7 separate regions of the Homo sapiens genome follow, and regions 2, 3, 4, 5, 6 and 7 are each linked to region 1. The links are contacts of gene promoters, found by promoter capture Hi-C in human tissues and cell types (Jung and others, 2019). All regions are on one chromosome and are shown on one strand. The core of a region is centred on a gene start or on the middle of the fragment in contact, and the rest is flanking DNA. Distances in the headings are between cores, read along the strand shown. Region 1 holds the start of GINS4 (GINS complex subunit 4). Region 2 has its middle 130 kb from the start of ZMAT4. Region 3 has its middle 150 kb from the start of ZMAT4. Region 4 overlaps KAT6A (lysine acetyltransferase 6A). Region 5 has its middle 170 kb from the start of MIR548AO. Region 6 overlaps LOC105379771 (a long non-coding RNA gene). Region 7 has its middle 52 kb from the start of ANK1.

The links. The method cuts DNA at HindIII sites, captures the fragments that hold promoters and counts their contacts. A contact is called where the count stands out against the background at its distance.
Region 2: a contact is called between a fragment that was not itself captured here and the fragment with the promoter of GINS4 in region 1, in 2 of the 25 tissues and cell types used here (lymphoblastoid cells and stomach).
Region 3: a contact is called between a fragment that was not itself captured here and the fragment with the promoter of GINS4 in region 1, in 2 of the 25 tissues and cell types used here (heart right ventricle and mesenchymal stem cells).
Region 4: a contact is called between a fragment that was not itself captured here and the fragment with the promoter of GINS4 in region 1, in 1 of the 25 tissues and cell types used here (mesenchymal stem cells).
Region 5: a fragment that was not itself captured here is called in contact with the fragment with the promoter of GINS4 in region 1 in 2 of the 25 tissues and cell types used here (H1 embryonic stem cells and IMR-90 fibroblasts).
Region 6: a fragment that was not itself captured here is called in contact with the fragment with the promoter of GINS4 in region 1 in 4 of the 25 tissues and cell types used here (bladder, mesenchymal stem cells, mesendoderm cells and 1 more).
Region 7: a fragment that was not itself captured here is called in contact with the fragment with the promoter of GINS4 in region 1 in 2 of the 25 tissues and cell types used here (adrenal gland and mesenchymal stem cells).

Annotation. Positions count from the first base shown.
Region 1 is chr8:41,527,542-41,531,655 of GRCh38, reverse strand. It overlaps GINS4 (GINS complex subunit 4), which reads right to left and starts at 2,395. Exons shown (of 8, transcript NM_032336.3): 1 at 2,260-2,395; 2 at 1,358-1,472. The coding sequence starts at 1,453. RefSeq lists a silencer at 2,420-2,849. The HindIII fragment of the contact is 17,762 bases long and covers 1-4,114 here.
Region 2 is chr8:41,021,666-41,025,779 of GRCh38, reverse strand. No RefSeq gene overlaps it. Among named protein-coding and RNA genes, the nearest start is that of ZMAT4, 130 kb to the right of the region's middle. The HindIII fragment of the contact is 3,598 bases long and covers 656-4,114 here.
Region 3 is chr8:41,049,437-41,053,550 of GRCh38, reverse strand. No RefSeq gene overlaps it. Among named protein-coding and RNA genes, the nearest start is that of ZMAT4, 150 kb to the right of the region's middle. The HindIII fragment of the contact is 3,878 bases long and covers 175-4,052 here.
Region 4 is chr8:41,975,202-41,979,315 of GRCh38, reverse strand. It overlaps KAT6A (lysine acetyltransferase 6A), which reads left to right. Exons shown (of 17, transcript NM_006766.5): 6 at 539-674; 7 at 1,989-2,308. Among named protein-coding and RNA genes, the nearest start is that of KAT6A-AS1, 74 kb to the left of the region's middle. The HindIII fragment of the contact is 4,974 bases long and covers 1-4,114 here.
Region 5 is chr8:41,102,574-41,106,687 of GRCh38, reverse strand. No RefSeq gene overlaps it. Among named protein-coding and RNA genes, the nearest start is that of MIR548AO, 170 kb to the left of the region's middle. The HindIII fragment of the contact is 7,626 bases long and covers 1-4,114 here.
Region 6 is chr8:41,177,276-41,181,389 of GRCh38, reverse strand. The region is part of intron 2 of LOC105379771 (a long non-coding RNA gene); the gene reads left to right. Among named protein-coding and RNA genes, the nearest start is that of MIR548AO, 92 kb to the left of the region's middle. The HindIII fragment of the contact is 9,170 bases long and covers 1-4,114 here.
Region 7 is chr8:41,847,230-41,851,343 of GRCh38, reverse strand. It overlaps a transcript of ANK1 not described here. Among named protein-coding and RNA genes, the nearest start is that of ANK1, 52 kb to the right of the region's middle. The HindIII fragment of the contact is 3,387 bases long and covers 299-3,685 here.

The DNA of each region.
Region 1 (4,114 bases), core at 1,146-3,645:
TTGTGGGATGAAAGACCACAGTTTCTACCAGTTTCTCAAAAAGGTCTGTGATATAAAAACAGATTAAGAATCACTGCTAAATAGTAAGGATTATCATGTAAGGTATAATTTAAAAATCATTTTAGTTCCGTTTTGTCATTCGTGATATCATGTATGGCAGGGAAGAATGAAGAATACTAAAGTAGCAAACATGAGAGAGCTCTGGAAAGGGGCAGTTAGAGCAAGAGGATAAGGATACTTACTATGAACAGCTCACATCTAGTGAGTGCTTATCATGTGTCAGATAGCATGCTGAGTGCTTTACACAATTACCACATTTAATCAAAAACTCCAGGACATAGACACTATTATCATCTCAATTTTATTTTATTATTTTTTTGAGACGGAGTTTCACTCTTGTTGCCCAGGCTGGAGTGCAATGGTGGGTAGGATCTTGGCTCACCACAACCTCTGCCTCCCAGGTTCAGGTGATCCTCCGGCCTTAGCCTCCCGAGTAGCTGGGATTACAGGCATGCGCCACCACATCCGGCTAATTTTTGTTTTTTAGTAGAGACGGGATTTTACCATGTTGGTAAGGCTGGTCTCGAACTCCTGGACCTCAGGTGATCCGCCCACCTCAGCCTCCCAAAGTGCTGGCATTACAGGCTTGAGCCACCGTGCCCGGCCCTATTGTCTCAATTTTATAGGCAAGCAACGGCTTGAGACAAACTCCCTAACTTGCTCAAGATCACATAACAGAGGAGTGTCACAGACAGATTTAAATCCAGATAGTCTGAACTCCTGTTACCAGAGCATCATGAGATATAAGTGTAAAGAACACAGTTACTGGCACATGGGAAATATGCAGTAAGTCATAGCTATTACAACTTAAAGGAGAAATATTTCAGAAAGGATTTTAGATAAGCAGTGGACATATGGAGAGCAGACGACTCAAGAAAAAACATGTGAGAAAAAGGAAAAATATGACCAGTTTTCCCTTACAGGCATTTCAGCATTTTCTTGCTAAACAGGCATTCTCCAGGGAAACAGCAGATGTTCAAGGGACTAAGGTAAAGAAGTTCAGGGACCTCTACAGTCCCTGAAAATATCACGTGGATCCTTGCTCTGTGAACTGTTCACTGAATGTGCCCAAAGCTGTCCCTTACTGACCCCACTTGGGGATGCTGTGTTTGATATGATGAGGTCTCTAACAGAGGATGTCCTTCTTGCTTCCCGTTTCCATGTAGATGGTAAGATCCAGTCCCTGTTCTAAAGTAAGCCCCAAATTCCGTTTCCTCATCTTGTGATCCCTGATATTCACAGTTGAACTAAATAAAAAGGCTGACTGGAGCAAAGGGATTCGATCTGGGATGCTTACCTGCTCCAATCTTTCAATGAGCTCTGCAGGAGTTAGGACCACTTCCTCACTACCCCCATCAGAGTCCTGTCCCAGGAAATCCACTTCTTCGGTCATCTTCTCTGAAACCAGGAACCTAATGAGAGGGAAAGAACCAATACTCTGCAATGCGTTTTCTAATTATCTGCAAGAACAGACATCTATCTGGAGAAAGGAAAGGTTTATTGAGGTTTCCTGGGGTTGTAGAGGCCCTTTAGCAAGTGGTGAGAGAACGCAGGGACTCTAGTTTTCCAGTGTCTGCCTCTTCCTCCAAGGCTTAGGTCAGGTATCCGTTTCTCAAACAAGCCTCCCCCTTACTTCTGTCCACCAAGAGCTGAGCACCCATCACACCATACAATCACTATTCATTTCTTTGACTTCCCAGTAGAGGTCTTGTTCCTCAGGGACGGGGTTCGTTTTAGTTCAAATACGAATCGCGCCTCTGCTCAGTGCCTGGCACTAAGCACTGGGGACGCAATGACGTGGGAAGCCCCTGCGCTCAGCACAGCGCTTGACTCCTAGCAAGCACTTAACATTATTAGGAGCTGGCCGGGCTCACGCCTGTAATCCCAGCACTTTGGGAAGCCGAGGCAGGAAGATACCTTGAGCCCAGGAGTTCGAGACCAGCCTGGGCAACATAGGGAGATCCTGTCTCTATAAAAACAAAAATTGTTAGGAAGATTAATCAATGCTAATTTCCCAGAGCCACAAGGGCCGGCGACATTAGACCAGTCGGCGATCCCAAAGGCCTAAGGAGGTGGATGGCGGGGACAAAGAAAGTCCCTGGGGTCGCAAGGAAACTGCGAACATCCCCCTCCCCTCCTCCCTCTCAGTGCCACCCACACAGGCCTGCCCTAGCCACAGAGGTCCCATTCGACGCTCACTCGGGGACCTGGGAGACAGCGAGGCACTCCACAGCAGCCGGCGGTAAGGACGGGGCGTTCGTGGGGACGCAGTCGGGGCACCAGGAAGCGGGAAGACAGAGGAACAAACTGCTCAAGGACTTGCCGGGACCAACTCAACCCTGCAACTTCTCAGCTCCCGCGCTACTCTCGCAAAGTTTCCGCCCAGGCACGACGTCATCGCGCAAGGGCGACGCTGACCAATCAAGGCCCGGGGGGAAGAGCGGGGCGGTCTCCTTGGGCCCGCCCACCCGGCGGGCGGGGACTGTCTTCGCGGCGGCCTGCAGTCCCAGCAACCCAAGGACTTGAGGCGGCGGGAGGCTGGTCCGGGTTGGCCCCGCCCACCTGGGGGCCGGCCGCTCCGCTGTGCGGTCCGGGTTGCACTACCCAAGAGCGTCGGGAGGGGGCGCCCGCCACCGCGGCCAAGGGGAGCGGCGGTGTCCGCCCCGGGGGGTCCCACCCAGAAGTATGCTGTTGAAAGCAGGCCGCTGCAGCCTCCTGGGCCGTCTCCACCCACAGCTCTCGTGGCTCTTTGGGTTCCTCCGTCTTTGCGGGGTTTCACCTGTGGTCAGTGTGGTCATTGCCTTCAGAATCTCCAGTATATTCCTTTTCATCTTTCTTGAGACAGGGTCTCGTTCTGGTGCCCAGGCTGGAGTGCAGTGGCACCACCACAGCTCACTGCAACCTCCGCCTCCCGGGCTCCAGCGATCCTCCCACCTCAGCCTCCGGAGTAGCTGGGACCACAGGCCAGCGCCACCACGCCCAGTTATTTTTTAATTAAAAAAAAAAAAAAAAAGAACTGTGGCGGGGTTGGGGGTGGGGAGGTTCTCCCTATGATGGCCAGGCTGGTCTCGAACTCAAGGATCCAAGCAATCCTCCCACCTCGGCCTCACAAAGTGGGTACTGGTTCTTGAAGCCTGGGATCGGACGACCAGCAGAAGCATCGCCTGGGAATCCGTGAAAATGCAGGTTCTCAGGCCCCACCCTGGCCCACCGAATCAGAAACTGGGGGTATTTCACCAGACCCAGGCCCTCCCGGTGACCCTGACACAGCTGAGGTTTGAGAATCACTGCTTTGGGGCCGGGCGCGGTGGCTCACGCCTGTAATCCCAGCACTTTGGGAGGCCGAGGTGGGCGGATCACGAGGTCAGGAGATCGAGACCATCCTGGCTAACATGGTGAAACCCCGTCTCTACTAAAAATACAAAAAAATTAGCCGGGCGTGGTGGCGGGCGCCTGTAGTCCCAGCTACTCGGGAGGCTGAGGCGGGAGAATGGCGTGAACCCGGGAGGCGGAGCCTGCAGTGAGCCAAGATGGCGTCACTGCACTCCAGCCTGGGAGACAGAGCCAGACTCCATCTCAAAAAAAAGAAAAAAAAAGAAAAAAGAAAAGAGAATCACTGCTTTGGGGCAATGCTTTCAACTCACCTTCTGGAGGGGAAAAGCACAAAAACCCATGTCTGTATATGTATATATTTTTTCCATCTTTGTGTGATCCAGTTTTTCTTCTCTGAGTTGCTGATTCTTTTCTCTTTGCTGTCCTTTGTTTTCTGTGCAAAGCGTTGCTTCTGGCTTCCCTAAAAGTATCTCTTCTCCATCAATCTGAGGGCTCTTTGCAAAGCTGCCCTATGATGTCATATTGATTGACTAGTAAAATGATTGGCTAATATAGTATGATCGTACCTGCCTGATTACAATCCTGTTATGAAAATGACAATAGAATAAGCCGAGTGAGAGAGTAGGCATCTTTACAAAGCGCTGTGTAAGCTGGGGCATATCAGCACGGGATTCCCAAAAGGAAGGGACATTTGAGCTGTGTCTTATGAAATGAATTTTGT
Region 2 (4,114 bases), core at 1,205-3,704, 510 kb after region 1:
AGTTGTGAGCAGAGAACATACCAAACAACACCCTTAATTTCCAGATAAGACAATAAAGGCTGCGAAGAGTAAAGTGCCCTTCCCAAGGTCACACAGAATGGACAGAAATCAGAACTCAACCTTTTGGCACCAAGACCAGGGCCGTGTCCACTTTATCATCCTGTATCTCCGTATGCCTGTTCTTTTCTTTAGTTCCAAGAATAAAATTGATATCCAAGGAGAGTTCACCCTTGATTCAGATTTGCCTGCATGTAAGTACCTCCTTCCCCATCCCCCAGACAGGAAGCAGTGCTCAGATGGAAGAAGGTGGCACTCTACGGTGCTTTGATGGTGTCTCTCTCCGGGCCCCCTTGCTCTCCCGACTCTCCTGGTCGTTCTTGTATGGATTCATGTGTTGCTTTCTGATCTCACACACAAGTTCCTGATTTTCTTCATACTTGTCATATTTTCTGTTCCTTTGGGTGGTTTCGTACTTTCCATGACCTTGTCACCTACTGCCTTAGTTCATTTTGCATGGCTGTAAAGAAATACTGAGACTGGGTGATTTACAAAGAAAAGAGGCAGGCTGGATAATATAGTGAAACCTTGTCTCCACAAAAATAAACTTAAAAATAGCCAGGCATGATGGTGCACACCTGTAATCCCAGCTACTTGGGAGGCTGAGGCAGGAGGATCACTTGAACCTGGGAGGCAGAGGTTGCAGTGAGCTGTGATCCCACCACTACACTCCAACACTCCAGCCTTGGCAATAGAGTGAGACTGTGTCTCAAAAATAGATAATTTTTTTTAAATTTTACTTTAAATTCTAGGGTACATGTGCATAACGTGCAGGTTCGTTACATATGTATACATGTGCCATGTTGGTGTGCTGCACCCATTAACTCGTCATATACATTAGGTATATCTCCTAATGTTATCCCTCCCCACTCCCCCAACCCCCGGCAGGCCCTGATGTGTGATGTTCCCCTTCCTGTGTCCATGTGTTCTTATTGTCACTCATCTGACAAAGGACTAATATCCAGAATCTACAAAGAACTCAAACAAATTTACAAGAAAAAAACAAACAACCCCATCTAAAAGTGGGCTAAGGACATGAACAGACACTTCTCAAAAGAAGACATTTATGCAGCCAATAGACACATGAAAAAATGCTCATCATCACTGGCCATCAGAGAAATGCAAATCAAAACCACAATGAGATACCATCTCACACCAGTTAGAATGGCAATCATTAAAAAGTCAGGAAATAGCAGGTGCTGGAGAGGATGTGGAGAAATAGAAATACTTTTACAATGTTGGTGGGACTGTAAACTGGTTCAACCATTGTGGAAGACAGTGTGGCGATTCCTCAAGGATCTAGAACTAGAAATACCATTTGACCCAGCCATCCCATTACTGGGTATATACTCAAAGGATGTAAATCATGCTGCTATAAAGACACATGCACACGTATGTTTATTGTGGCACTATTCACAATTGCAAACACTTGGAACCAACCTAAATGTCCATCAAAAATAGATACATTTTAAAAAATAATAAAAGACGTTGATTTGCGTTATGGTTCTGCAGGCTGTGCAAGAAGTGTGGCATCAGCATCTGCTTCTGGTGAGGCTTCAAAAAGCTTCCAATCTTGTTGGAAGGAGAAGGGGGAGTAGGCATGTCACAGGGTAGGAAAGGGAGCAAGAGAGATGGGAGCAGCAGGAGGAGGTGCCAGGTTTCTCCCAACAGTCAGTTCTCACGGGGACTCACAGAACAAGAACCCACTCATTATCTTGAGGACCCCACCAAGCCATTCATGAGGGATCCGCACCCATGACCTGAACAGCCACCACTAGGCCCCACCTCCAACACTGGGGATCACATTTCAACATGAGATTTGGAGGAGACAAACACTCAGACTTTATCATCTACTTATACCCTAATGATGCCCAAACTAATATCTCCAATTAAAGCTTGTTTCCTTGGCTTCCGAAGCCTGTGGAGCATCCCAGTCTGTCCCCTCAGTATGTGGTGGACAGAGCTGCGTCTACATCACTTCCCTTTATATAATCCTTTACTGGCTCTTTAACACCTGCAGGAGCATGTAACTGGGCACACAAGGGCCTCCATGACTGGGCATCAGCCTAATTTTCTAGCATTACCACTTTACAGTCCTTGCCTCTCACTATGTCCCATAATAACACCTGATAGCCATCATCTCCTTCCATCCCTGTGTGCCCCACCTGGTATACCTTGAAGTTCTGAACTCTTTCTGCACTGGTATGTTGAGACATAGATGTCACTACTATCCATGACTTTTTTTTTTCTTTAAGAGGGAATCTTGCTCTGTCACCCAGGCTGGAGTGCAGTGGTACGATCTCAGCTCATGGCAACCTCTGCCTCCTGGGTTCAAGCAATTCTCCTGCCTCAGCCTCCCGAGTAGCTGGATTATAGGTGCCCACCACCATGCCTGGCTAATTTTTGTATTTTTATTAGAGACGGGGTTTCACCATATTGGCTAGGCTGGTCTCAAACTCCTGACCTCAAGTGATCCGACTGCTTTGGCCTCCCAAAGTGCTGGGATTATAGGAGTGAGCCACTATGCCCAGCCCATGACTTTTTTTAAAGAAAAAATATTGTCATAGGAAAAAGTTTCCTTTGTTTGGGATTCCCCATGTGTGTTCCTACAGAGTACCTTGGTATCTTGGAATCTTGGTATGGAACAATGTGGAGTTTGAGAAAGCCCCCAGTCACCTTGTTTGTCACGCCCTCCCTCAGGAGGGGATTTTTCTCTGTCACTGAAAATAGCTGCTGAGGGCGGATATGACCCCCACCCTTTCCCCATGTGGAACAGAGGCATTCATTGTCCCCTGTGGATTTCCGTCTTGTAGACAAAATCATCTCTCTCTGTCGCCACTGAGACACAGTTCGTTTTGAAGCCTGAAGGTTTCCCTTGCTTAATTGATGAGGAACTAATAAAGCATGCCCTGTTCCTTGGAGTACAGCCCTATTAATGGCAGGATTCTGATATTACTTTTGCACACGTATTAAATTGCAGCCCAGAAGCCAGATCTTCTACTCTTTGCAAACTTAATGGAAAGCAAGGGAGGCAGGTGGCAGTAACAGGTAAATGATGAACAAGAGTCATTGTGTGCCTGGAGTTATTAAATTTTTTTCTGGGGCAGTCTCAGAAAAATGCTCCTGGGCCTTATCTAAGAATAATAGATTTTGAATCAGAGGGGACCTTAAAGGTTATCAGAATTTAGAGGTAATCTGCCGCCCAGGGTAAAAATCCCATCTGCAGGGACTGCGATAAATGGTTATATCCAGCCTTAAAAAAAAAAAAAAAAGTTTCCAGTGACTGGGAGCTCAAGGCAGCTTGAGGCAGCCAATCATTGTCAGCAAATAGAAAGCTTATCTTAGCGAGTAGCCACTTCATAGTTGACTCAAAATATAATCTGTTTCTAGAATAAACTTCTGGATGGGACACAAAATAAACTCTCACTCTACTCATTTCTTGTAGCTATACACAGATAGAGCTAGATAATTCAATTGGAAAGACTGTAGAACTGGAGGGGCTCTGAATCAAGTGCTCAGATGCCCTGGATTTATTTGGCGAGTACCAGCTGCAAACATTTGTTCCATTGTCAGACTAAATGCCACAGCCATGATTTCCAGTCACTGCAGCAGGAGGCCATCCCGAAGGGTGATGTAATTCCCATTACAGTTGATGGAAACAGCAGATTGAAAAAAAGAAGCACAATGACAAAAAAAGGTAAACCCCTAAAGTGAGTTTCTTTTATAAGTCACTACAGCACTTATACTTGATTCATTTATAATTACAGGACGTATTTATTCATTAGTTCTTGATGTGTGGATGAATACTCAGATCGCTTATGAAGACTGAGATTTTCCCAAGCATCTGGGTTCTGTATATTGGAAATAAATCACTGATTGATTCTTTGGTTTGAAAATTGGGCTATTTGTCCCTGGGGATGTTTATTTGTTGTAAATAACCAATACATACAATGTAAATCTTATACAATTTTTGCATTATAAAATATTCTTTTTTAACCATTTACAACTTTTCAGCCATTAAAAGTGGACAAAAGAAAACTATTCTTAGTTCAAAGGG
Region 3 (4,114 bases), core at 864-3,363, 480 kb after region 1:
TATCACAGATTCTGCACCTTTCACAAAAATGAAGTTGGGTCAAATGTCCTACCTAAAATCTCTATTTATTTATTTATTTATTTATTTATTTATTTTTGAGATGGAGTCTTACTCTATCGCCCAGGCTGGAGTGCATGGCATGATCTCGGCTCACTACAACCTCCGCCTCCCAGGTTCAAGCAGTTCTCCTCTCTCAGCCCCCGGAGTAGCTGGGGTTACAGATGCCCACCACCATGCCCAGCTAATTTTTTTGTATTTTTAGTAGAGATGGGGTTTCACCATGTTGGCCAGGCGGATCTTGAACTTCTGACCTCAGGTGATCCACTACCCTTGGCTTCCCAAAGTGCTGGGATTACAGGCTGGTGGTTTGACTTCCTCTTACTAATTTGGATGCCTTTTATTTCTTTCTCTTGTCTGATTGCTCTGGCTAGGACTTCCAGTACTATGTTGAATGGAAGTGTTGGAAGTGGGCATCCTTGTCTTGTTCCAGTTCTCAGGTAGTATGCTTTCAACTTTTCTCCATTCAGTGTAATGTTGGCTGTGGATTTGTCATAGATGGCTTTTATTACGTTAAGGTATATCCCTTCTACACCGATTTTGCTGAGGGTTTTAATCATAAAGGGATGCTGGATTTTGTCAAACACTTTTTCTGCATCTATGGAGATGATTATATTTTTGTTTTTAATTCTGTTTCTGTAGTGTATCACATTTATTGACTTGCCCATGTTAAACCATCCTGAATCTCTGGTATGAAATCCACATGATCATGGTGGATTACCTTTTTGATATGCTGCTAGATTTGGTTAGCTAGTATTTTGTTGAGGATTTTTGGATCTATGTTCATCAGGGATATTGGTCTGTAGTTTTCTTTTTTTGTTATGTTCTTTCCTGGTGTTGGCATTAAGATGATACTGGCTTCATAGAGTGATTTAGAGAGGATCTCGTCTTTCTCCATCTTTTGGTGTAGTTTCAGTAGGATTGGTACCAATTCTTCTTTGAATGTCTGATAGAATTCAGCTGTGAATCCACCTGGTCCTGAACTTTATTTGTTGGTAATTTTTTTAAATGACCACTTCTATCTCACTGCTTGTTATTGGTCTGTTGAGACTTTCTGTTTCTTCCTGGTTTAATCTAGGAGGGTTGTATATTTACAGGAATTTATCCATCTCCTCTAGGTTTTCTAGTTTGTGTGCATAAAGGTGTTCACAGTAGCCTTGAATGATATTTTGCGTTTCTGTGGCATGAATTGTAATATTTCCCATTTCATTTCTAATTGAGCTTACTTGGATCTTCTCTCTCCTTTTTTTGGTTTATCTCACTAATGGTCTATCAATTTTGTTTATCTTTTCAAAGAACCAGCTTTTTGTTTCATTTATCTTTTGTATTTTTTTGTTTCAATTTCATTTAATTTTGCTCTGATCTTTGTTATTTCTTTTCTTCTGGTGGGTTTGGGTTGGTTTGTTCTTGTTTCTCTAGTTCTTTGAGATTCCTTAGATTGTCTGTTTGTGCTCTTAAAACTTTTTGATGTAGGCATTTAATGCTATGAACTTTCCTCTTAGCACTGCTTTTACTATATCCCAGAGGTTTTGATAAGTTGTGTCACTATTATCGTTGAGTTCAAGTACTTTTTTAACTTCCGTCTTGATTTCATTGTTGACCCAAAGATCATTCAGAGCAGATTAGTTAATTTCCACGTATTTGCATGACTTTGAGGGTTGGAGTTGGTTTCTAACTTTATTCCACTGTGGTCTGAAAGAGTACTTGATATAATTTTGATTTTCTTGAATTTATTGAGGCTTGTTTTGTGGCCTATCATGTGGTCTATCTTGGAAAATGTTCCATGTGCTGATGAATAGAATGTACATTCTGCAATTGTTGAGTAGCATGTTCTGTGAATATCTGTTAAGTCCATTTGTTCTAGGATATAGTTTAAGTCCATTGTTTCTTTGTTGACCTTCTGTCTTGATGGCCTGTCTAGTGCTGTCAGTGGAGTATTAAAGTTCCCCACTATTATTGTGGTGCCATCTATTTAATTTCTTACGTTAGTAGTAATTGTTTTTATAAATTTTGGAGCTCCAGTGTTAGGTGCATATATAGGATTGTGATATTTTCCTGTTGGACTAGTCTTTTTATCATTAGATAATGTCCCTTTTTTTTTTTAACTGTTGCTGCTTTAAAGTCTGTTTTGTCTGATATAAAAATAGCCACTTCTGCTCACTTTTGGTGTCCATTTGCATGAAATATCTTTTTCCACCCCTTTACTTTAAGTTTATGTGAGTCCTTATGTGTTAGGTGAGTCTCTTGAAGACAGCAGATACTTGGTTGGTGAATTCTTATTCATTCTGCAATTCTACATCTTTTAAGTGGAGGTGAAGGATTTAGGCTATTTACATTCAACGTTAGTATAGACTATGTGAGCCACTATTCTATTCATCATTCCAGTTGTTTCCTGAATACCTGTTTTTAAAAATTGTATTATTGTTTTATAGGTCCTGTGAGATTTATGCTTCAAGGAGGTTTTGTTTTCATGTATTTTGAGGTTTTGTCTCAAGATTTCCAACTCCTTATAGCAGTTCTCATAATGCTGGCTTGGGAGTGGCAAATTCTCTCAGCATTTGTTTGTCTGAAAAAAGCTTTATCTTTCCTTCATTTATGAAGCTTAGTTTCACTGGATACAAAATTCTTGGCTGATAATTGCTTTGTTTAAGAGGGCAAAAGATAGGACCCCAATCCCTTCTAGCTTATAGGGTTTCTGCTGACAAATCTGCTGTTAATCTGATAGATTTTCCTTTGTAGGTTATCTAATGCTTTTGCTTCATAGCTCTTCAGATTCTTTCCTTTGTCTTCACTTTAGACAACCTGATGACTATGTGCCTAGGTCATGATATTTTTGCAATGAATTTCCTAGGTGTTTTTTGAACTTCTTGTGTTCAGATGTCTAGATCACTCACAAGGCCAGGGAAGTTTTCCTTGATGATTCTCTCAAATAAGTTTTCCAAACGTTTAGATTTCTCTTCTTCCACGGAACAGAAATTGTTCTTAGGTTTGGTCATTAAACATAATCCCAAACTTTTTGGAGGCTTTGTTAATTTCTTTAAATTCTTTTTTTCTTTATCTTTGTTGGATTGGGATAATTCTAAAGCTTTGTCTTTGAGCTGTAAAGTTCTTTCTTCTACTTGTTCAATCCTATTTTGCATTTCCCTAAGTGTGTCTTTCATTTCCAGAAGGTTTCATTGTTTTTTATTTATGATATCTACTTCTCTGGAAATGTTTTTGTGCATATCATGCATTATGTTTTTAATTTTTTAGGTTGGTTTGCACCTTTCTCTGGTACCTCCTTGAGTAGCTTAATAATCAATCAACCTTCTGAATTCTTTTCCTGGCAATTCAGATATTTCTTCTTGGTTTAGATCCATTGCTGGTGAACTCATGTGATATTTTGGGGGTGTTAAAGAGCCTTGTTTTGTTGTATTACTAGAATTGCTTTTCTGGTTCCTTCTCATTTGGGTAGGCTATGTCAGAGGGAAGATCTGGGAATCAAGGGCTGCAATTCAGATTCTTTTGTCCCAAGGGGTGCTCCCTTGATATGGTGCTTTCCCCCTTCCCCTATGGATGGGGCTTCCTGAGAGCCAGACTACAGTGATTGCTACTGCTCTTCTGAGCCTTGTCACCCAGCAGAGCTACCGGGCTCTGGGCTGATACTGGGTAGTGTCTGCAAATAGTCCTGTTATATGATCTGTCTTCAGGTCTCTCAGCTGTGGATATAAGCACCTGCTCCAGTGAAGGTAGCAGGGGAGTGAAGGGGACTCTGAGAATCCTTGGTTGTAGGTTTGTTTAGTGCACTGGTTTTCTCGAATGCTGCTTATGCTAGCAGTGAAGTTGTCATGTGGACAGACTCTGTATCTCTGATTAGCCAGGATATTACAGGCAGTGAAATTAGCTGTTGTTTTCTCCTTCCTTGGAGCAGGGTTATTCTTTCATGAGTTCCTGTAGTGGCTTGAGTTGGTTGGCCTCCTGCCAGGAGGTGAAGCTTTCAAAACAGCATCAGCTGCTGTAGTATAGTGGGGCTATAAGCTTGCCCTACAGTCTCCTATCCAGGAGTATTTGGGTTTCT
Region 4 (4,114 bases), core at 1,139-3,638, 450 kb before region 1:
TCTACAAAAGAGATTATATAGCAGCTTTAGGCAGGAAACTTTTTTTTTGAGACGGAGTCTCACTCTGTCGCCCAGGCTGGAATGCAGTGGTGCAATCTCGGCTCACTGCAACCTCCGCCTCCTGGGTTCAAACGATTCTCCTGCCTTAGCCTCCCGAGTAGCTGGGACTACAGGCACGTACCACCATGCCCAGCTAATTTTTGTATTTTTAGTAGAGACAGGGTTTCACCATGTTGGCCAGGCTGGTCTTAAACTCCTGACCTCAGGTGATCCACCCGCCTCAGCCTCAGTGGACTTCAAGTGCAGTCAGTGGACTTCCAGTGCAGGCTTGAAGGTGTATGTGAGTCTCTTCCAATTATTTGTAGAATTTTGTGTGTATATGTTTTAATGTTTATTTTGGATTGGAGGGGGTATTCATCAGATTTTCTAATGACAGTCTTTTACCTGAAAAAGTTAAGATCCTGACTTAAGACTATCTGAAACCTTTCAGTGTATTTATGTCTGTCACACTTCTATGTGGAATTTTATTTTTTTATAGGCATGTGGATATGTCAAATATGTCGACCTAGGAAAAAAGGACGAAAACTTCTACAAAAGAAGGCAGCACAGATAAAACGGCGCTATACTAATCCAATAGGACGTCCAAAAAACAGGTTAAAGAAACAAAACACGGTGTAAGTTGTACTTGTGGCAAGGTGAGGGGAGAAAAGGATAGGGTCTTCTCTATAGTGTAGGATTCACTTGTTTTCTCTATGAAAAAAATTCCATTGTCATATCTGGCACTTTTATATAATAATAATGGCTAACACTTATTCAGCCCTTAATAAGTGCCAGACACTATTCTAAGTGCTTTATATGCATTGAATTGTTTAATTCTGCCAACAACCCAGTGAAATATAGCTGCTGCTGTTACTTTCATTTTTCAAAGGAAGAAACTAAGGCATAGTAAATGTTGAACTGGGATGAAAATCCGAGTAGTCTGGCACCAAAGTCTGACTCTTAACCATTGCTTTATGTTGCTTCTCTTATATAAAAACAGGAAAGAAAAAGTTGTTACTGTGACATTTCACATGTCACTCTCCTGATCTTGTCTCAGTTGTTAATATCTATTAGGTGTACAAATCACTGGATAGGTTCTTCCTATTGAGGTGATGGCTAAGTCCCATTTTTGTGTTCTTTGGATGTAAAATAATTTGAATGTTTTCATCTATTAGCAGAAATCAGAAATTGTGGACTAGAAAGCTGGGCTATGTCTGGAGGAGGTGGGGCAAGATTCAGTAGCTAGTTTTGTCTTTTTAAAAATGTCTGTAGTAACTCACCTTTGATGATATGTAAACGTCTTCAGGCTTGTCAACCTCCCTTTATTATCAAAAGTTTTACTTACTTTTTTTACACGTAAGACTATCTTGAAGGTGATATAACTGAAATGAATGGGCATTAGCAGCCTGAAATGTACAGAACCAATATTGTAGTCTATATTCAAAATCTTAAATCAAGCTTTGATTTTCCTATAAAATGATCTTTTGATTCCTGGCCTTCGAAGAATAACCCATCCTTGTGTTTTAGAGATAAAAGTATAACTTTCAGTTGGTGCAGAGATCACAGTGTAGTAGAACTTTATACCTGGAAGGATCTTAGTTGTTCTTAGTCCAGTTCTCATTTTACAGATGAAGGCACTGACATATGTTTAGAAAAAATGTGATTTGTCCAAGTCGTACAGCTAGTAAGAGAGAATTATGACTAGAACAAGTCTTCTGACTCCTGGCCTGTCATTCTTTGCACTATAAGTAGGCTTCCTGGCAATAGATGTTTCTAATAATAATATTAATTTTCATTCACAGAGTACTATTTATAGTTTGCAGAATATTCTTAATAATATAGATTTTAATAAAGCTGTAGGTTACTTACTAATTATATGTTATGTATTAAAAAGGAACCTTACAAGTATCTTTTTTAATACTTACCCTTTCCCCTGTTTAATTGTTTAGATCAAAAGGTCCCTTCAGCAAAGTTCGAACTGGCCCTGGAAGGGGTAGGAAACGAAAAATCACTCTTTCCAGCCAATCAGCATCATCATCATCAGAAGAAGGATATTTAGAGCGGATAGATGGCTTGGACTTCTGCAGAGATAGCAATGTCTCCTTGAAGTTCAACAAGAAAACCAAAGGGCTCATTGATGGCCTTACCAAATTTTTTACCCCTTCCCCTGATGGGCGGAAAGCTCGGGGGGAAGTGGTGGACTACTCTGAGCAATATCGAATCAGAAAGAGGGGCAACAGGAAATCAAGCACTTCAGATTGGCCCACAGGTAAGAGTTTAGAACAGACTTAGAAACAAATAGTATTCTGTACATGTATTATTCGGGATAACACTAATTATCTATAATGGATTTATATTTGATTATTAACAATTGGTTATAGAATATAAGAACACATTGAAAAAACATGTAGATGATACTGAGGTGATAACTGTGGCAGGAATTTAGAGGATGGAAATAAAGTTGCAGAATGGGACAGTAGGAACTCTTAGGCAAAAGGAAGCTGCTTTTTTGTAGAACCACAAAGAATCTGCCTAGAGAAACTTGGGGTGTAACCTTGAGGATTACTTTACATTTCACAAATTACTAAAGAAATCATATGGTGAATGTTATGATGCCTGCTTATTCCAGGAAGGAAACTGGAAAGAATAGAACTGGGTGAAATGCTGTTGATCTAAGCATAAAAAAAAGACCAAAATATTTGCAGATGTGATGAGGTCATTGACTTTTCTACTTCAGATCTTGACAAATATAGTTGTAAGTCATGGATTGCACTTAAAAAGGGAGAGACAGAACCACAGCTCCAGGCTGCTTATGTATCAGGCTAAGTTCCCTAATTTTCAAAGTAGAAAACATCTGTGGAGAGGACTTAATAATGTGGCAAATCATTCAAGTCAGAGGAGAAGAATTTGATTAACTGTCCAATAAATTAAAGCTTAAAATAGTCTTATTGCTGAGCCTTGAATTTAGAGATACTAACCCTGTGAAGGAAGTAGAAAGGGCTTGAAGAAAGTAGAATGAGAATGAACTCTTTTGGACCACAAGGGCCAGAGGTGTAGTGTCTCATCTACTACAAGAGAATTCCCTGACCTTGGTTTCCTCCCTGAATGTCTCCTTGGTGAGGGAGAGTGTATTCACTGCTCTCATTCGTGGTTGATTGTCCAGTGCAGGAGAGAAAGTCCTTGTAATTGTCAGAGTCCCCTTTGTATGCTTTATTGATTGGTCTTTTACCATAGTGATGATCAACTAATTACTCTTTAAGCATTCAAGACTCTTCATGTCTTTATCAACCTGTAGATAAGTTCCTGATCTGAGCATGTTTATCTAAGAAAATATGCAATCCGTTTAGATTAAACTAGGAAAGAATCTCAGAGCAAATCCTAATGAAAGACATTTTTGAATTAACCATTTGTACTGGAGACGGTTTATTAGAAGAATCTACTAGAAAGCTTTTGAAATAGAAATTGTTAGAGCAAGTGTATCAAGTATATGGAGAACCAATATTGAATTTTTGACAGTGGTGTGAGCGTTTGCTTTAATAGGCTCTGTCATTTTCTTTATGAATTATAAAGTTTAAGTACCGAATGCTGTATTAGAGAGGTGCATGCATCATGCACTAGGGGGCATTAAAGTCACATAGTACCTTTAGATTGTACTTTTTTCTTCCAGTTTGAGAATGTTGTCAACAGTGAGTCCTTGACTTTTTTCTTCTTGTGTTAAGTTAATAACAGATGGCCCATATGTGCAGTTGACTTGAGAACTGTCACCAATTGGTCTTTTCAGCCATACTTATAAAGAGAGCAAATGAGCCCAACAGCAGTGTCATCTTCAAATGCAAAGGATAATGATCTTCATAAGTCCCAAATACTCTCTTCACTAGTTTTTTGCCAACTTGAGGAAGTTCCATCATTTAGTAGATAATTATCATACGTTTTCATATTTACCCAGATGATTATCATCTGGGTAAATAGAGTTTGTGCTTTAAAAGGACAGTGTTTTAAAGTTTGTGCTTTAACTTTAAAAGGGCACCCAGAATGTGATGGGAGTTAGTACTGCTGACATCAGTTAAGGTAGCTA
Region 5 (4,114 bases), core at 634-3,133, 420 kb after region 1:
AACCACCACACCCAGCTAATTTTTTTTTTTTGAGATGTGGTCTCCCTATGTTGCCCAGGCTGGTCTCCAATGCCTGGACTCAAACGATCCTCCCCACTCACCCTCCTAAAATACTGGGATTACAGGTGTTAGCCACTTTGCCTGGCATACATGACTTTGAAAGAAAGATGTCATGTTAAAATCTTTGTATACCTCTTAAAATTTAATTGTACATTTCTACTTATCAGAGTAACAAACATTTTTAAAACCAAGAGTACCTGTAGAAACGATTTGCACTCATGGTGCATAATGGCATCATCCAAGGCCAGCCTGGTAGAAAGCAGCTTTGCCTTGTCAGCTCAGACTTGCCTTTTATCAGTGCCAAGGGATGATCTAACTCGTGAGGCAGAGTCCAGGTAAGTAACTAATTAATTGATTAATTAATTAATTAAATTGGACGTCAGATGGAGAGTGTCTAGTTAATTACACGCCTCAGCTCATGGCGTGCTATAACCAGCCTTGCAGAACTCCTCTCTGACTGTAGTTTCATTAATATTCCCCCTCTTTCCTCATCCCAATTTCCATCTTCTTTCCCCACATTCATCTGCTCTGACGTGTTTAACACGCCTGCTTGGGTGTGTATGCTTTATCCCCTGTGGGCCTCGGAAAGCTTTCTCAGGAGCACACCCCAGGAGAGGGCGTTCTACCCGTAGCCAGATGCGTTCCTGACATCATGAAGGACTGTAGGATCCTGTCTCAGAATGGGGTCCTCGTTCCACACCCACCAGTGCGCTTGAGAGGATTGTTTAACTGCCCACTTTCTCCGCTCTGATGAGGGGAAGGTGGTAAGTGGCTTTAATTTGCACACTTGTGAATGCCAGTGAAATTGAACACCATGTATACCTGTTAGCCACCTAGGCTTTCCTTTCTGTCAATTGCTAATTCCTACCTCTTGCTCACATTCTATGGGCTTCCGTCTTTTCTCAGTTGATTGCTAAAAGTTCCTTGCGTATTCTATAATAGACGTGATCCCTTGTTGATTTTTAAAATTGTGAATGTCTTCCAGATTTGCCACCAATTTGTCAATTTCATCTATTGTGTTTTTAATGAACAGAAATCCTTACTTTTAATAGACTTAAATCTACTGTTTCCCGCTTTTGTGCTTTATGCTTTCGAGGGGCTTATTTAGGAAATCCTTAGCTTCCTGACGTCTTAGAGATAAGACGTCTCTCATCCATTGCACAGTTCTCTTACCACACTGGTTTTGCTTTTCGCTCTTAGGCCTTCAATCCACCTGCAGTTTACCTTTGTGTATGGATGAGCAGGAGATGCAACTTTATTTTCCCCAGTGTACAGCCTCTTTGCCAAGCCAGCACGGACTCACTTCCTGCGCTTGTGCTTTAGGTGTGCTTGCTGGCTTTGCAGCTTAACTCCTAGAGGGGACTCCATTTCCTTTACTTATAGTGCTACCTCAACAGCGCCCCTTGTGCTTCTCCCATGCACTTACAACTTACAACATAAGACTGAAGTGCGGTGAGACGATTTGGAAAAGCATTTTATAATTTATATGTCAAGTGTCGTTTGCTTTGACCCAGTGAATCTGTTCTTGGGAACTGAAAAAACTTTTCTGAGTTAAGATGGTCACTTATTTTTGTTAGTAAGCAATTAGAAACAATCTAAAAGTCCCAGGAATATAGAAATCATTGTCATAATAGCTTAGTCACTCAATGGCTAATTTGAAACAAGCACAAGTAATGATTATGAATGGTTTTTAGTAAAAATATATAAAAATGACCATCATATAATGTTCGGTACAAAAAGAACAGAAAGCTGCACATAGAATGAAAATCACATTAAAAAGTTAATAAATATCTTTACATGGTAAGATGATATGAGCATTCATTTCTTCTTCTGAATGTTCTGTATTTTCTAACTTTTATTATATGTTCATTTTATAATGGAAATAAACTGTATTTGTAAAAGTAAACTAAGCATCAGGTTTATATGCTTTTTTTCTTTCTTTCTTTTTAAGACAGGGTCTTGCTCTGTCACGCAGGCAGGAGTGCAGTGCTGTGATCATGGCTCACTGCAGCCTCAACCTCCCAGGCTCAAGTGGTCCTCCCACCTCAGCCTCCCGAGTAGCTAGGACTACAGGCATACACCACCACACCGGGCTAATTTTTGTATTTTTTGTAGACATGGGGTCTCATTATGTTGCTGAGGCTGGTCTCAAACTCCTAGGCTCAAGCGATCCTCGCACCTCAGCCTCCCAAAGTGCTGAGATTACAGGCATGAGCCACCGCATCCGACCTCAGGTTTATATGCTTAACTCAATCACTCGCACTTTACCTGAGCAACTCTCTGCCAGGGGTGAGGGAGGCCGCGTCTCCTAGCATCATCACACACCCACAGGTTGTGCACTGTTGTTACAATTTCTGAACGTGGAGAAGTAGACTGACCACGTCCCAAAACCCACAAAACTGAAGGCTTCTCAGCTGTGAGGAAGAAATTCAACACTCGGGCCAGTTACTTGCTCCTTCTTGTTTCTGAAGAAATGCAGCTTCTAGGGGTCCTTGCTTAAATATTGGGCTGATGTGGGACTGTTCTCTGAACCGTGATCCTAATAACTCTCCCTTCCCTCTCACGCTCCTCAAAATCAGAGCTAGCTTTCCTCTTTCCCAAATCAGCCCATATTTTTAATGTCTCAGGATATTATGGTCCTGATATAGTTTGGATCTGTGTCTGCTCCCAAATCTCATCCTGAATTGTAATCCCCAGTGTTGGAGGTGGGACCGGGTGGGAGGTGACTGGGTCATGGGAGTGGTTTCTCATGAATGGTTTAGCCCCATCCCACTTGGTCCTGTCCTAACAACAGTGAGTTCTCTGGAGATGTGGTCATTTAAAAGTGTGCAGGGGTTGGGTGCAGTGGCTGGCGCCTATAATCCCAGCACTTTGGGAGGCCGAGGCAAGCAGATCATGAGGTCAGGAGTTCAATACCAGCCTAGCCAATATGGTGAAACCCCGTCTCTACTAAAAATACAATAATTAGCACGGCATGGTGGTATGCACCTGTAGTCTCAGCTACTTGGGAGGCTGAGGCAGGAGAATTGCTTGAACCCAGGAGGCGTTTGATTAGCAAGGCATGGTGGCACACACCTGTAGTCCCAGCTACTCAGGAGGGCAAAAGGATCACTTAAACCCTTGAACCAGGAATTCCAGGCTACAGTGAGCTGTGATTGTGCCACTGCACTTCAGCCTGGATGACAGAGTGAGAATCCAACACTTTTTAAAAAGTAAAGTAAAACAGTCACAAGGTCATCATTCTGCCTAACATGATACAACTATCCTACATAAAATCAAAAACACTAATTCTTGTCCCAGAAGAAGTTGCAAAGTTCTTGGGTGATGTTTACCCTTCTCCTTGATATTCTGTAACTTAAAAACTATGATGTAATGTTAACAATGCTTAAATACTATCATATAAGGTCAACACATCTTATGTTACATGATAGAAGGATAAGAGTGGGAGGAAAGTAAAGATACTTGCTATAGATACAGAGATATGTACACACAGGTATTCACAACAAATAAGGAAGAAATATTCATTTCTGTTGTGGGTTTCTATAACCATATTTCTATAGCCGGTCATGAGGTCATGGCTTGTAGTTACAACTACCTCTTCTACTAATCATGCTATATCCCCTTCACCCTTAGCAAGCACCTCAGCTGGTGTGGTTTTTTACCTGTGGGGTGACCCAAGCCTTCATTGCTAAAGGGTCTGACCCATATTCCTGCCTGGATTGACTTATTGTAGTTTTCCATTGCAGTTATTGTAGCTTTCCATTGACCTGAATCATAGGCCGTGGTAATACCAAGATACGCCCTAAGGGATCTCTTGCATTCCAGATGTGCTCTTCCTCGCTTCCTGGCCATAAGTGATCCTCCCACCCTGATCTCCTAAAGTGCTTTTCTCGGAGATTAAGTATGGTGTAAGGAGGTGCATGAGTGCCGAGCTGACAAGGTGAGGACTTGCGATGGTTAATTTTATGTGTCAGCCTGGCTAAGCCATGGTGCCTAGATATGTGCTCACGCATTATTCAGGATGTTTCTGTGTGTTTTTGGATGAAATTAACAT
Region 6 (4,114 bases), core at 779-3,278, 350 kb after region 1:
ATGAATATTGCCAAATCACACTCTAGAGAGGTTGCACTAATTAATCTCTACCTATCTTAAAGGTGAAAAACTGTAGATAATAGAATTTTAAGTTAGCTTTTCTCTTATTATGAATAAGGTTGAGTACACTGCCCGATGTTGTAATCCATTTTTAATTTCATTTCTGTGAGCTGTCTTGTTTATGTCCTTTCCCATTTTTCTGTTGGAATTTGGTCTTTTAATTTTGCAGTGCTATTTGTATGTTAGGGAAATCTGAATTGCACATTTTTTCATCAATTTATTGTTTTTTATAGGTCATTTTGAATAACTTAGTGCAACATAGTATTGACCTAGTTTAGATGCTTTGTTTACTTAAAAAGTATAAAATCATATATTGAAAAAGAATGCTGTGCAAATTAAAGGTTTACTATTACTGAGTCTTCTGTCTTCAGATGCAGAGCATCCTAATGAATAAGAATTGAAATAGTCAAGAAACACTGAACACAGCCTTTGGTGCTGTGAGTAACACAAACAAGTAAATTTCAAAATCCATCATTGAGTAAGTCAGAAGTGATGGAGGCCTGGCTCATGCCTATAATCCCAGCACTTTGGGAGGCTGAGGCAGAAGGATCACTTAACATCAGGAGTTCTAGACTAGCCTGGGCAAAATAACAAGACCTCATCTCTACAAAAATAAGTTTAAGAAAATTAGTGAGGTGTGGTGGTGCCCATCTGTAGTCCTAGCTACTTGGGAGGCTGAAGTGGAAGGATGGCTTGGGCCCAGGAATTTGAGGCTGCAGTGAGCTGTGATCACACCACTGCACTCTAGCCTGAGCCAGAGTGAGACATTGTCTTAAAAAAAAGTGATGGATCAATAAAATGTTGGAAAGTGGAGACAGGGTGTGGGCACATGTGTTTGGGCAGAGTGAGGATGGGAATGGGAACCCCTTTGCCTGCAGGAGAATGCTGCATAAAGCAGGCATGTTCAGATGTCCTATGGGGGAAAAAGAAAAGAGGCAGTGCAGCGACCTAGGAAGTGTGCAGGCCACCAGGCAAGGGCTTAAAGAGGTCATGTCAGCAAGTACTAGCCCAGTGCTACTAAAGGAGTCAAGGCCTAGATGAGCTGGCCTTCTCACCAATAAACTCCCATTGCCTCTTCTGTGGCTAGGGTCATAAATACATCTGTGGCTTCTCTTGCTATCCCATGTCCAACCCATTGTTCAGGGCACCTGAATGAGGCTTCTAGCACCCCTGAATGAGCACCAAAGACATAGGTCTAAGTCAGCCTGGAGGGAGGTGGTGCAACTTCAGGCCACCCCATCTCCCTCTTCAGTTCCTTCTGTTACAAATGCCAGAAACAAGGGGAAAGCAAACCAAACAATTTGTTTTCCCTTAAAGAACAAGACTAGCTGGTGAAGCTCAGGCCTGCTGGGCATGGTGGGATAAGATACTGACAGAGTTATCAAGGAAGCCAAAGCCAAAGACAGCACCAAGATGCATTATCTATGGCAGTTGCAGTCAACCAGCCATTTTTGATAGCTATTAACATTGTAATACACTTTTCTGTTGATTAGATTGGTTAGGCCATTTGACCTGTTCTAGCCCTGCAGAATTTCTGCGGCCAGACCTAAAATGCTGGAAATCTGCTCTCTGGTAAGGTCTAGGCATGCATCCTTGCCAGTTCCTTTCTGTATTTCCTAGGCTTCTTGTCCAGGTTTCACAAACTTGGATACACATAACAGATCGAATTCCAGCTTGGATGCATGGAGTATTGGAACAGTCAAAACCTTCAAGTGTGGTCTCAAGATCATTAACAAACAAGTCATTTCCATAACATGATAGTAGCTTACTAATTGCCTCCTTATGCCATAAACTGTGCATATATGTTCTTTCTAAGTCTCTCGATTGTCCAAGGTAGGTATGACATTCTTTACTTTATATTTTTATAGATGAAGCAACCTTAACTCAGAAGGGTTAATTACCTAAGGTCATATGGCTAGTATGCAATTAGCTAGAACTGGGATTTGAACCCAGTTCTGTGTAAACCCAAGGCCTGAACACTTGCTACTTCCCCTTGCTACATTCTCCATTGCCATGATGAGGCCAAGGTTTCTTTTCTAAACTACCAGATGTAGAGCTCCATAACATCTCAGGATTGTGTCAACTCTCAAATCCCATAATACTAGGTATTGATCTCAATGATCAACATTGTTCTTAAGATTCTGACAACTATACGAAAGAGAATAATTACCTGCTCAATGCAACTGGAGAGCAGTTACACACACACACACACACACACACACACACACACACACACTCCTATGATGAATTACTAGACCATAGATTAGAGATGATAAGGACATTTAAAGTACATGTAGTCACATGGTACAATAAGCCAAAATCATTGGGGAAGGCTTTCTGAAGGAGAGAATTTCTGTTTTAGACCTCAAAAGGTGATTAGAATTTTGAGAGGTAAAAGAAAGAAGAGGCTGGCTTTGCTTTCTGGCCATGTGGTGGACTAGATGTCCTAGAAAAACTCCCCACTCAATATGGCTAAACTCGCAGGATACAAAATTCCTTTGAAATGCATCACTGAGTTTGCAAAAAGGTGAGAGTATTTCCCAAGGGCTAAAAACAAAGAGAGTTGCTAGTGCTTTTGGTGGTCCTGGTTGTCCAGAGCAAGGGTTGGAAATCATTTTCTGTACAGGGCCAGATAGTAAATATTTTTGGCTTTACGAGCCCAGATGGTCTCTGTTCAAACTACTCATCTCTGCCTCTGTGGCATAAACGCAGCCACAGACAATACATAAGCAAAAGGGCGTGGGAAGACTTGCCTAGCTGTGAGCTCAGTTTGGCCCATGAGTTATGCTTTGCTGATCTCTGATCTAGGGTCTTGGGTTTTAATGCCTTCTGTGGATCTTCTGTTTTGGGGCCCACACAAGGTGAGAAGATTGAACTGAGACAACCCTCACATGTGTAAAACAGGATTCCTGGGGCAGTGTGGACTAGATGAATGAGGCCCCTGGCAAGGGAAGACAGATAGGGATACTTGCTTTATGAAGTGCGACTCTGGTGAAAAAAAGAAATTTGAATTTGTTACTATAGTTAGGCCTACTGCTATGGTTTGAATGTGTCCCCTCCAAAATTCAAATGTTGTCAATGTGATATTATTAAGAGATGGAACCTTTGAGAGGTGATTAGATAATTAGACCATGCAGGCTCCTCCCTTGTGAATGGGATTAAGCCTGTTTAAAATAAAGCTTCATGCCACATTTGGTTGGCTAGTCCTCCAGCTCTTCTGCCGCGTGAGGACAGTGTGCCAGCCTTCTGGAGGATGCAGCCTCACCAGACAATCAAACCAGCTGGCACCTGGATCTTAGACTTTCCAGCCTCCAGAACTGTGAGGAATAATCATCTATTCATTATACATCACCCAGTCTCAGGTATTTGTTGTTGCAGCACAGACAGACCAAGACACTTACCCTCACACATGCTTGAGGTTTGGATTTGTACTAACTGCATTGTACAGGAAACTTCAAGCTATGCAATTAACTTAAAGTGGTTATTTAAGTGGTAGTGCCTCAGGGACCTTAGAAAACATGAGTTCATAATCCAAAATCACACGCCACACAAAGGAATAAGCCACCGGGAGCAAGAGTCAGCAGAAACAACAAATGGCAGAATTATTCTTTCAAGGATTGTGGGCATTGTAATGATTTTGTTACAAAAAATGTTTAAAGAAGTAAAAGGGAAAATGAAAAAGATAGAGGATATTTCAGGGAAAGAGAGGAAGAGACATAAAAAGTCAATGGTGGGGATGAGAACATGTTAAGGGGCAAGAAGGAAATAGTCCAAGATAGGGGCCATGTGATGGTATTAGTGAATGAATGAACATTGATTAAACTCATAGTGCACACCAGCACTTGGCTAGGTACTAATGGTAGAGATGGGTAAGAGTATAGGATTGCCCTCAAGGAAGTTCCAGTCTAGGAGAAGAATCAGATAATCAGGTAAATGAATAAATGCCATAAACTGTAATGGGTTCTATAACTAAACATAACAGAGGCAGAGGAAGAAGTTGCCCATTCTACTCAAGGAATTCAGGGCAGTTTCTTGGAGGATTTTATGCTTGAAT
Region 7 (4,114 bases), core at 743-3,242, 320 kb before region 1:
GGGCCTGCAACGCCCACTGCCTCATTGCTGGAGTGTTCTCTGCCATCCTCGGGGAAGCTTCTGCCTCCTGGTGAAGCTTCAAGGGAGGAAGAGAAAGAAGAGACAGACGAAGAGAGAAGCCGCTGAGTAAGCTGATGTCCATGCTGTGCCATTAATATTGATCATGATTTGGTCGATTTCATTCTGTGAACTCTGCAGCTCCAGTATTGATCTCTAAGCACTAAAATTGAATAGGGAGGCATCTTACTGTCAAAAGTCAGCTCAGAGCTGGAGCAAGTTTTGATTGAAAAGACACAGGTAAGATTTCTGGGGAGGTGCCTTCTTTTCCAGAGACCACAGAAATCTCAACCAGTCTTCTCTTTACCAGACACCCACCTGGTGTTGACTCACCCCGCCTCCCTTAGAAAGAGGCCGGGTAGCCTATGTGATGACATGCACGTGAGCTTTGCCATGAGACTAACCTGGGCTTCGCTCCTGGCTCAGCCACTTACTAGCCGAGGCTTCAGGCATATTGCCTAAGCTTCTCATTCATTTGTTTTTCATTCAATAATTAGTTATTGTGGGCCAGGCATGGTAGCTCATGCTTGTAATCCCAGCACTTTGGGAGGCCAAGGCAGGAGGATGGCTTGAGCCCAGGAGTTTGAGACCAGCCTGGGCAACATAGTGAGATTCCCATCTCTGCAAAAATATAAAAAATTATCTGGGTGTGGTGGCTCATACCTGTAGTCCCAGCTACTCGGGAGGCTAAGGCGGGAGGATCACTTGGTCCCAGGAGGCTGAGGTTGCAGTGAGCTATGATTGCACCACTGCATTCCAGCTTGGGTGACAAAGCAAGATTCTGTCTCTAAAAGGTAAATAAATTCATAAGTACAGATTAAAAATGACTATTTATTGAACATCTGCCAGGTGCTCATAATATGCCAGTGAGTTAGTTAGACCTGCTACTGTTTTGGTCATTTTTTTTTTCTTTCTGGAAGAAACAACTTTTGATTTTAAATTTTTATTATGAAAAATGTCAACTATACTCAGGTGAAGAGTTGTCACCGTTAGCCCCACTTAAGCATTATTTAGTTTCAACAGTTATTAGGCATTCAGGCGGAACTTTTAGCCCATGGGCTAAACGACGGCTGCACTGTAACGAGAGCGAAAGGAAGTTGCCGGGACCCCCACCAAGCCTCAGTTTCTTCATCTGCAAAATGGAAAAACTCTACTTATCTTATAAAGGGTGAAGCGAGTGACTTCACGAAGCGTGCTGAGCCTGGTGCCGGCAGGAGGGTGAGGATCTCATGTGTGGGAGCGGTCGCAGGGCTGTGGGGAGGCTGCAGTGAGGGACTGTCTGAGAGCCGCTGCCAGGGCTCTGACAGCGTGATCAGAGGAAGGCCATAAAGGTTTGTGGGGATCCCTGTGGTGATACTGTCTGCTTGTAGCATGGTGCCTGGCCAATCGCAGGTGCTCCATAGATAATGGGGAAGATGAAGATGGTGCTGGAATAAGTTTTCTCAAACTTCAGCGTGGTTGGTGAAAAAGAGTTAAGAGGAAGAGAGAAAATTGTGAGTGACGTGCTGACGAAAGGAGCTGAGAGATCACGTAGAAAAGACATCGTCCTGTTAGGTGAAATAACAGAGCATTAACTATTAAAGAATGAAAACACTGAAGTGATGGAAAGCCCTGAGTGTGTGGTGGGCACCTTCCCTGCGCGGCGGTGGGATCCGAGGGGATCATTGTCATGCTCAGGATCCTGCCTTTGCCTTCAAGGGGGTTACCCTCTATTTGGGGAAATAGGACAGGAACTCCTGATAAATGACTACATTTTTTTTTTTGGGACATTGTCTCGCTCTCTCTCCCAGGCTGGAGTACAATGGTGTGATCTCAGCTCACTGCAGTCTCTGCCTCCCGGGTTCAAGCAATTCTTCTACTTCAGCCTCCCTGGTAGCTGGGATTATAGGCACTTGCCACCATGCCCGGCTAATTTTTGTATTTTTAGTAGAGACGGGGTTTCACCACAGCCCAAGGCCAAAGGCCAAGGCCAAAGAAGAGCTGCCATGGGATGAGGTTGATAAACTGGCCTATTACTTGTACAGACAGTAAGTGTGAGTTCAGAAGAGCACAGGTCCCTTCCAGTGCAGACATCAGGGCAGCCTCACCCAGAAGGTTTCCGTTAGGCCTTCGAAGATGGGCAGAGGATATGAAGTGAGCCCCTCCAAATGTGGTTCAAAGGTCCCTAAAATAATGTTGAAGCTTGGTTCCAAGTTCACACAGTTTAGTCATTTTTGAATTCTCTTTGGGTTTGATTCCAGTCCCTGGTGCCCTGTCTGGCCCTGGAGGGTGGAAACTTCAATCAATAATGCTCCAGGTGGACAGAGGCAGGTCAAGCTCCAGGTGGATGGGGGCAGGTCGCACCAGGGGCAATGGTCACAGGCCTGGAGACTGGGTCTGGCCCAGGGCCCCTGAAGCAACGTTCCCTGCAGTGGGGAATGGGCTTTGCAGTGCAGCCTGGGGCCACCTACTCCCTGCTTGGACTTGATGTATCCAGTTGTAAAATGCGGATACCAATACCAGGCTGTCTGCACAGTTATATAAGGATTGCATGAGATCACCTTAAGAGCAGTAAATTCAGCTGTCCAGACCTGGGGCTATTTTCAAGTTGATGTAGTCTGGTCTCTCTTTCAAAAAGGGTGAGATATTTTTCTTCACCTTCAAGGTGGAAGGAGAAGATCCATTTATCCCCCAACTCCCAGTGTTCTGGGCAATTTGATGAGAGACAGGGTCTCAGGGCACAGACGACAGCACCCCCAAACCAGGCCAGGGGCCCAGGGCTGGCCACTGGGGAAGGGCATCAGCAACGTCAGTCCTGGGCCTGGTCTCCCTGGGCTCGGCTCTGCAGGGACCAATGGTGCTGCACGCAGGCGTGAGTGACTGTTAATGCTTCACGCTTCCCACTTCCCCTGTGAGGTCTTCGCATTTTAGCCAAGAACCTTCTAGAGTCCAAAGGGATTACTTACTCTACGGTGGAAAGTTGGGAAGCTGTGTGATCTGATAGAAAAAAATCACTGGGTGTTTTATGCAGAGGAATGTGCTAGATATTTGTTGCATAATAATGTATATTGCACAGTTTTATTTATTTATTTATTTATTTATTTATTTATTTATTTATTTTTGAAATTGAGTCTCACTGTATTCCCCCAGGCTGGAGTGCAGTGGCATGATCTCAGCTCACTGCAACCTCCACCTTCCAGGTTCAAGTGATTCTTGTGCCTCAGCCTCCCAAGTAGCTGAGATTACAGGTGCACACCATCACACCCGGCTAAGTTTTGTATTTTGAGTAGAAACAGAGTTTTACCATGTTGGCCAGGCTGGTCTCAAACTCCTGACCTCAAGTGATCTGCCTCTCAAGTGATCTGCCCGCCTCGGCCTCCCAAAGTGCTGGGATTATAGGTGTGAGCCACTGCGCCTGGCCCACAGTTCTATTTTTTAAAGAAAATGATAAATCTATCAGATAATCATATGAGTACATGCATTTTAAATGCACATACAAACAGATTCAGGACACACATCACACTGCCAGCTCTGGTGAATTTGGGTGCGTATGTGGGGAATCTGGGATAAAAGGCACGGTGGCCAAGAATGCCGCTCTGTAATGTCTTAATTTTGCACAAGAAGACTATATTCCTACGTTAGAGCAGGAACTTAGAGTCAGGTTGCTGGATCTCTGAATCTCTGCATGTGTAAAATGAAGATGAGTAATCTTTCACGAGCTGTCTTGGGGATTGAATGAGGTGATGCTTATATAGCTCCTGTCACAATACTTGGCTTACAGAATTCCATCAATAAAAGTCAGTGTCATTATCACCTCCGTAGCAGCTCGTGGATGCTTACCTGCGTTTTCCTCTCCTGGTCCCCTGTGAAGACCGTTTTCCCCGGCCTCCTTTGCAGTCAGCAATCATGTGACTGATTCTGGCCAGTGAAATGTGTGCAGACAAGATGTGTGTTATTTCAGGCCCGGCCATAAATCCACCTGCACCGTCTTCCTCGCTTTCACCTCCCCAGGTAAACCTTAGAGCTGAAGGTGTCATCCCTAAGTGTCCACTTGGACAACAGCCGCCTGGAAAGCCAG